2 separate regions of the Homo sapiens genome follow, and region 1 is linked to region 2. The links are contacts of gene promoters, found by promoter capture Hi-C in human tissues and cell types (Jung and others, 2019). All regions are on one chromosome and are shown on one strand. Each heading gives the region's core, a stretch centred on a gene start or on the middle of the fragment in contact. The rest is flanking DNA. Distances are from core to core; before and after follow the strand shown.

Region 1 (3,195 bases), core at 378-2,877, 400 kb after region 2:
CACGATTGACAAGGAAATTTGCCACCTCCATGGCATACAGTGTGTTAACATAATTATAATTATTACTGATAACATATACTGAGTCATATTAGAATTATAAGGGTTTTACATAATTTCATAACATATACTAATAACACATTTACACAAATGTAGACCAAAGAAAGCCAAACACCATTTCATATTTGACAATGCTTCCTGTATGATTTTTGCACCAAATAAGCCAAATGTCATTTTTGGACTTTAGAGGACCTAATATCTAAAATATTAGGTTAGAAAGAGACATAATTTATAATTTGATTTTGGAAAGTTTGTCAAGTAGCAAAGGTTTAAAACACTGGATATCACAAAATAGAATCCCAGGTCACCATAAATCATTCTTTGGCCAAAATGATAACTCCAAAAAAAATTTTTTTTAAAAAAGAAAAACCTTTACTCTGATAGAGGAGACTTAGCTTTCCAAAGAAGACCCAGTGAAGATAGCTTGAGGCCAACTGAATCTCTCTTCTCTCCATTTTTTCCCTGCCATTTACCCAAAGGAGAAAACAAGACCCTTTTATTATCTTTTAACATTAATTAAAAATCATCTTCAAAAGAGAAAACCAAATTTCATGTTTGCATTAATGCATCTTTAATGTTAAAGCTAGTTTGTTTGTTTGTTTGTTTTGTTTTTTGGTTTTTTTTTGAGACGAAGTCTTACTCTGTAGCCCAGTCTGGAGTGCCATGGCATGATCTCGACTCACTGCAACCTCCGCCTCCCAGGTTCAAGCGATTTGCTTGCCTCAGCCTCCAGAGTAGTTGGGATTACAGGCGCGTGCCATTGCACCCGGCTAATTTTTTGTATTTTTAGTAGAGATGGGGTTTCACCATGTTGGCCAGGCTGGCCTTGAACTACCAACCTCAGGTAATCCTCCTGCCTCAGCCTCCCAAAGTGCTAGGATTACAGGTGTGAGCCACCACTCCCAGCCTAAAGCTAGTTTTTTAAATAAAAGTTTATATCTCTATCCAGTAGTTAGTTTAACCATAAGGTAAGATTTTCATAAACTTTTTAGACCCCTTTACAATTTTCCATCAAACAGCAGATCAGTTTTCTAAGAAAACCCTGTTATTCGGACACTTGGGCCCAGATTTTGGCCCCACATCAGTATCATTTTAATTTTTTAACCTGTGGAAAACTAAATAATTTCTTTTAAATCTTAGCCAACTTGTTTACACCCACATAATTTTTACAAGATCAACCCTTTACAAACCCTTTTGACTTTGCTTAAACCTTCAGTTTTGTTCCATTCCTCTTTTAGGTTAAGACAATCCTTAAAACCTTCTGAAATAGACAAAATTACATTCCCTTTAACAAAAGCCATATTCCCATGCCTTCTTATAATCTTTTAACAAAAACACATTTCCTACACACCTTGTATGTAAAACTATTTCTCCAGTGGTCTCAATTAAATGTTACAATGTTAGCTCTTAGCAAATTTTATTTTTAGTGAAAAACCTGATAAGTAAGCGATTTTTTTTTTTTTTTTTTTTTTTAGGCGGAGTCTCACTCTGTCGCCCAGGCTGGAATGCAGTGGTGTGATCTTGGCTCACTGCAACCTCCGCCTGCCGGGTTCAAGCAATTCTGCTGCCTCAGCCTACCGAGTAGCTGGGACTACAGGCGCATGCCACCATGCTCAGCTAATTTTTAGTAAGAGACGGGGTTTCACCATGCTGGCCAGGCTGGTCTGGAACTCCTGACATCGTGATCTGCCCACCTCGGCCTCCCAAAGTGCTGGTATTACAGCCGTGAGCCACTGTGCCCAGCTTGGGGTGGAGCCTAGGATATCAGACAGAAATGATGATAAGGTCTGACTCTTTTTAGCATAGCCAACGGGCATGGCTCTCCATATGTCCCAAGGCCTTATCTGTAATCTAATGCTCCAAAATAGGTAAATTGAACAATTCTCAGAAGTCAAAGAAACAATTTGACCTTAAAGCATTTGGCAAATCTGATATCTTAATTTAGACCAAATGTTTCCATTTTCAAGACATTTTATTTTATCAGTCTTTAAAACTGTCTTCTAAAAGAATACTAAAGCCACGTGAACGAAAAGGCATTAAAAGTTTCTATTTTTCTGACAAAATATTTGATTTAAACGTTTACTTTCCTAAGCCAATCAGAGCTCTTTTGTATATAAACATACAACATATAGAAATACACAGAAGATTCAGCCCTTGTAAGATTTTTCATTTGCCAGTTTCTTTATTGGATTACTGGCTTCAGAATTGAGCCCTTGGAGGAACAGGGCCAGGAAAGCATGTATTTCTAGGGCCACATAAGCAGCAAATAAGCAGCTGAAGGCAAAGACAGATCCCCAAAATTAAGGGTGCCTTTTTATACTGGATCCTGGATCCCCAAAATAAGGGAAATACTACAGGAGAAGACAGTGCAGTGCTGCTGCTGCTGTTTTTTTTGTTTGTTTGTTTGTTTTTTGAGATGGAGTCTCACTGCGACATCCAAGCTGCAGTGCAATGGTACGATGTCAGCTCACTGCAACCTCCACTTCCCAGGTTCAAGCGATTGTCCTGCCTAAGCCTTCCAAGTAGCTGCGACTACAGGCACGCACCACTACGCCTGGCTAATTTCTGCATTTTAGTAGAGACGAGGTTTCACCGTATTGGCCAGGCTGGTCTTGAACTCCTGACCTCAAGTGATCGCCCACCTCAGCCTCCCAAAGTGCTGGGCTTACAGGCATGAGCTACCATGACCAGTCGACAGTGCAGTGCTTCTACGCTGCATTTCATTGCAAGGCAACCCAAACCCAATTATCCCATTTTGTAATCAGCCCATCTCTTGTGGGAGTCTCATCTCCCAGTTCTGGGTGGGGATGTTTCCTTATCTTCCAGGTGGCCAAGAGCATGCTTTTCTGATCCAAGTGTGCAGAGTCAAGTATCCCTCCATAACTACTCTTAGCCATCCCTTAAAGTATATTTCCTACTTAGTTATTACACACCAAAGCTCTCTCATAATGCGAAGTAATTTCTGATACCCCAAAACTCAAAACCATCAGATAACACAACGCAAAACAGAACAGAGCGTTTGATTTTGAAAGGGATCTATCAGTTTTTAATTCCTGTGGTTTCATGAGGAAAACAGAGGTGGTTTGTTTGTTTGTTTCCCCCAAAACGGGGTCTGTGGTGCCTCCTCTGTTTTTCCCA
Region 2 (3,159 bases), core at 447-2,946:
GGGGCATTAAGTAACCTTCCTAAAGTGCTACAGCGGTGAGAGCCACCAGGCTTCACAAGCAGGCAGTGTACCTCCATGCTCTTAACTAGGGCACAGCCTTGCCTGAGGGAAACACCACCTCAGACTATTTAGTGATCCCAGACATCCCTTGGAGAACTTGCAGGTATTTTCTTTCTTTTTTTTTAAAGGAGAAAGTCTCAAGAGAAGAGAAGATCTTTAGAAGCCTCCTACACAAAGGATATGCAGTCCCCCTTGCTTGGTGGTGAGTTAGAAACCTGCCTGGAGACAAGGCGGCGGGGGGGGGGGGTGCGGAATCTAAATATACTTATTACTTGTAATGGTTTCTCAGCAGCTGAACACATAGTGTCTTGAGAAAAAGGTGCTTGCTTATAACTTACACCAGGGTGTTCAATTTTTTGGCTTCCCTGGGCCACACTGGAAGAACTGTCTTGGGTCACACATATAATACACTAACACTAATGATATATGATGAGCTAAAAAAAAAATAATAAATCGCAAAAAAATTCATGTTTTAAATTTGCAAATTTGCGTTGGGCCGCGAGTTGGACAACCTTGTCTTACACAAAGCAGCATATGGGCCAGTGGCAACCTGCTTAAAGGGTTATGAAGGTCTAGTTCCTGACAACAAACTTCACGGCCCATACAAAGTTATTCATTTTACTTTCGACCACTTACCCCATGAACTACACCCAATGGGATACTAACCTGAAGCATGGCAGCTACTACTGGATTAGCCCTAAATAGGCTTAACCCTAAATAATCAGTGACCACTGTCCAGGTCAGAGGCTAACCTTGGGCTGCAGACGCAATGAAACCCCTATAGCAAGCAGAGGCTGGTCTACGACGTGGGAGGGAGAGGCAGAGATACACCTTAGCAGACGCCAGGATGCAAGTTTAGGAGTTCTCAGCGTCAGGAAAACATCCAGAACGTCTCTGTCAGTATCCTCTTATGCCTACAGTATCCCAAACTCCCAATTTTCCTGGTAGTGGGGCAGACTGGTCATCTGGTCACAACACCCGTTAATTACGGAGTAAAGGGATGGGCAAGAGGCTTCTCACCTTAAGAGTCACGTGGAGAGAAATGCTCAGGCACAAGGGACTTAAAATGAGAGGTAGAGGGTGGATGTAGGAGGTGTAGTTCTTCCCCGAGAGCGAACTAGCCCAACCGGAGAAAAGGTTTTAGGTCCCTGGTAAGGGAAGAGGCCTCAGTCCCCGACGTCTCTTACCACCTACACTGGACGAGGGTTTGGCGTGATTAGAGGCGAAACACTCTCTGCCACCCCAGCTGACCGCAGCGCCGCCCGCGGCCCGGGGCCCCGGCGGGACAGACCGGCGAGGGTGCGGCGGCGCCCTGCGCCCACCCCCGCCCCACCCCAAGAGCCCCGCGGGCCCCGCAGCGCCCCTCCTCCGCCCAGCGGCGCCCCGCCCGCCCGCCCGCAGCAGCAGCACCAACAGCGCCCCGGGCTCGACCTCGCTGCCGAAGGCCAGCTTGGCGGAGGCGGCGGCCAGGGCCCCGAACGCGCCGGCGCACAGACAGTTGAATACGCCCCAAAAGCGGCGCCGCATCGCACCCGCCTGGAGGTGCGGAGGGAATTCCGCGGGGGTGTCAGGGTACGCGGTCGCGGACACGGCGCCGCCCGGAGGCCCCGGCCTCTCGGCCATGTTGCCTGCTGACACCGTGCCTGGCACCCGCTGCCCGCAGGGCAGAGCGCGCGCCGCGATTGGATGGCAGCCTCACGTGACGCGACGCTCCTGTGACGCCACGCTCCGGCAGGCCCCTTGGGAATCGCTCTCCGGCGCCTCGGAGGGGGCGGGCCAGGTGGCAGAGACCCTGGGCTGTGGCGGCCTCCGGCCTAACCTGTAGTAGGTTTGTGCTCTGGGGAGGACGTCGGGACCCGAGGCCTGAGGCCAAGCCGGGTACTGTGGACGCTGTGGTAGAAGGTAAACTTCTCGCGGCTTAGCCGTCTCCATCCCGGCCACCCGGCTCCCGGTGAAACTTATTAAAGATGCCTAACGGGCCCCGCGCCGGCCCACCGAGTCCATCCACGTCGACCAGGCTTCTCCGCTCCACCCTCCAGCCTGAGGACCGCCGGACCAAGAGATGCCTCGGCAGAGGGCGCTGGGGACCTCCAGACCCAGAAAGACGCCAGAGCCCCATATGGGGACAAGCGCATCACAGAAAACCGAAAAAATGAGGATCTGCGATGAGAGGAAGACAATGATCCATAATCAAGCCACGCAGAATCAACATGACTTCTAATCTCCTGTTATACTTACGTATGTTTAGAATGTTTCCGGCTGGGCGTGGTGGCTCATGCCTGTAATCCCAGCACTTTGGGAGGCCGAGGCGGGTGGATCACCTGAGGTCGGGAGTTCGAGACCAGCCTGACCAACATAGAGAAACCCCGTCTCTACTAAAAATACAAAATTAGCCGGGCGTGGTGGTGCATGCCTGTAATCCCAGCTACTCGGGAGGCCGAGGCAGGAGAAGCGCTTGAACCTGGGAGGTGAAGGTTGTGGTGAGCTGAGATCATGCCATTGCACTCCAGCCTGGCCAACAAGAGTGAACTCCGTCTCAAAAAATAAAAATAAAAATAAAATGTTCCCATTTAAAAAGTACACGTCCTTGAAAATAAAGTGTTGAAATGTATAAAGTGCTATTTCCACTCTCCAGGAAAATCAGTGTTAATAGAGCATTTTTCTATATGTCTATTTAGTTATATATAGTTAAAATGTTAAAAAAATTATAGAATATGTATATGCATTTTTTAAACAAAAATGATTTCACAGTTGAACATACTGTTTAGCAGCATTCTTTTTGTATCTTCTGTTTAGCAAGTTTTTATGGAAGTCCTTCCACACCATGCTGCTTCTCTCACAGGGTGGTTTTGTGGCTCAAATAAAAGCACGGATAAGGCCAGGCACGGTGGCTCACGCCTGTAATCCCAGCACTTTGGGAGGCCAAAGGTGGGTGGATTACGAGGTCAGGAGTTCAAGACCAGATTGGTCAAGATGGTGAAACTCCATCTCTACTAAAAATACAAAAAAAATTAGCTGGGTGTGGTGGCGGGCACCTGTATTCCCAGCTACTTGGGAAGCTGAGGCAGAGAATTGTTTGAACCCAGGAGGCAGAGGTTG

Evidence for each region. Contacts are between HindIII fragments. The study calls those that stand out against the background at their distance.
Region 1: a fragment that was not itself captured here is called in contact with the fragment with the promoter of TMEM42 in region 2 in 1 of the 25 tissues and cell types used here (dorsolateral prefrontal cortex).

What each region holds. Positions count from the first base shown.
Region 1 is chr3:44,463,401-44,466,595 of GRCh38, reverse strand. The region is part of intron 1 of ZNF445 (zinc finger protein 445); the gene reads left to right. Among named protein-coding and RNA genes, the nearest start is that of ZNF445, 13 kb to the left of the region's middle. The HindIII fragment of the contact is 4,634 bases long and covers 1-3,195 here.
Region 2 is chr3:44,860,449-44,863,607 of GRCh38, reverse strand. TMEM42 (transmembrane protein 42) reads right to left here and starts at 1,696. Exons shown (of 3, transcript NM_144638.3): 1 at 1,492-1,696. The coding sequence starts at 1,683. MIR564 (microRNA 564) reads right to left here and starts at 1,720; the gene lies at 1,627-1,720. It also overlaps a transcript of KIF15 not described here. RefSeq lists silencers at 1,187-1,236, 1,567-1,616 and an enhancer at 1,647-2,236. The HindIII fragment of the contact is 28,079 bases long and covers 1-3,159 here.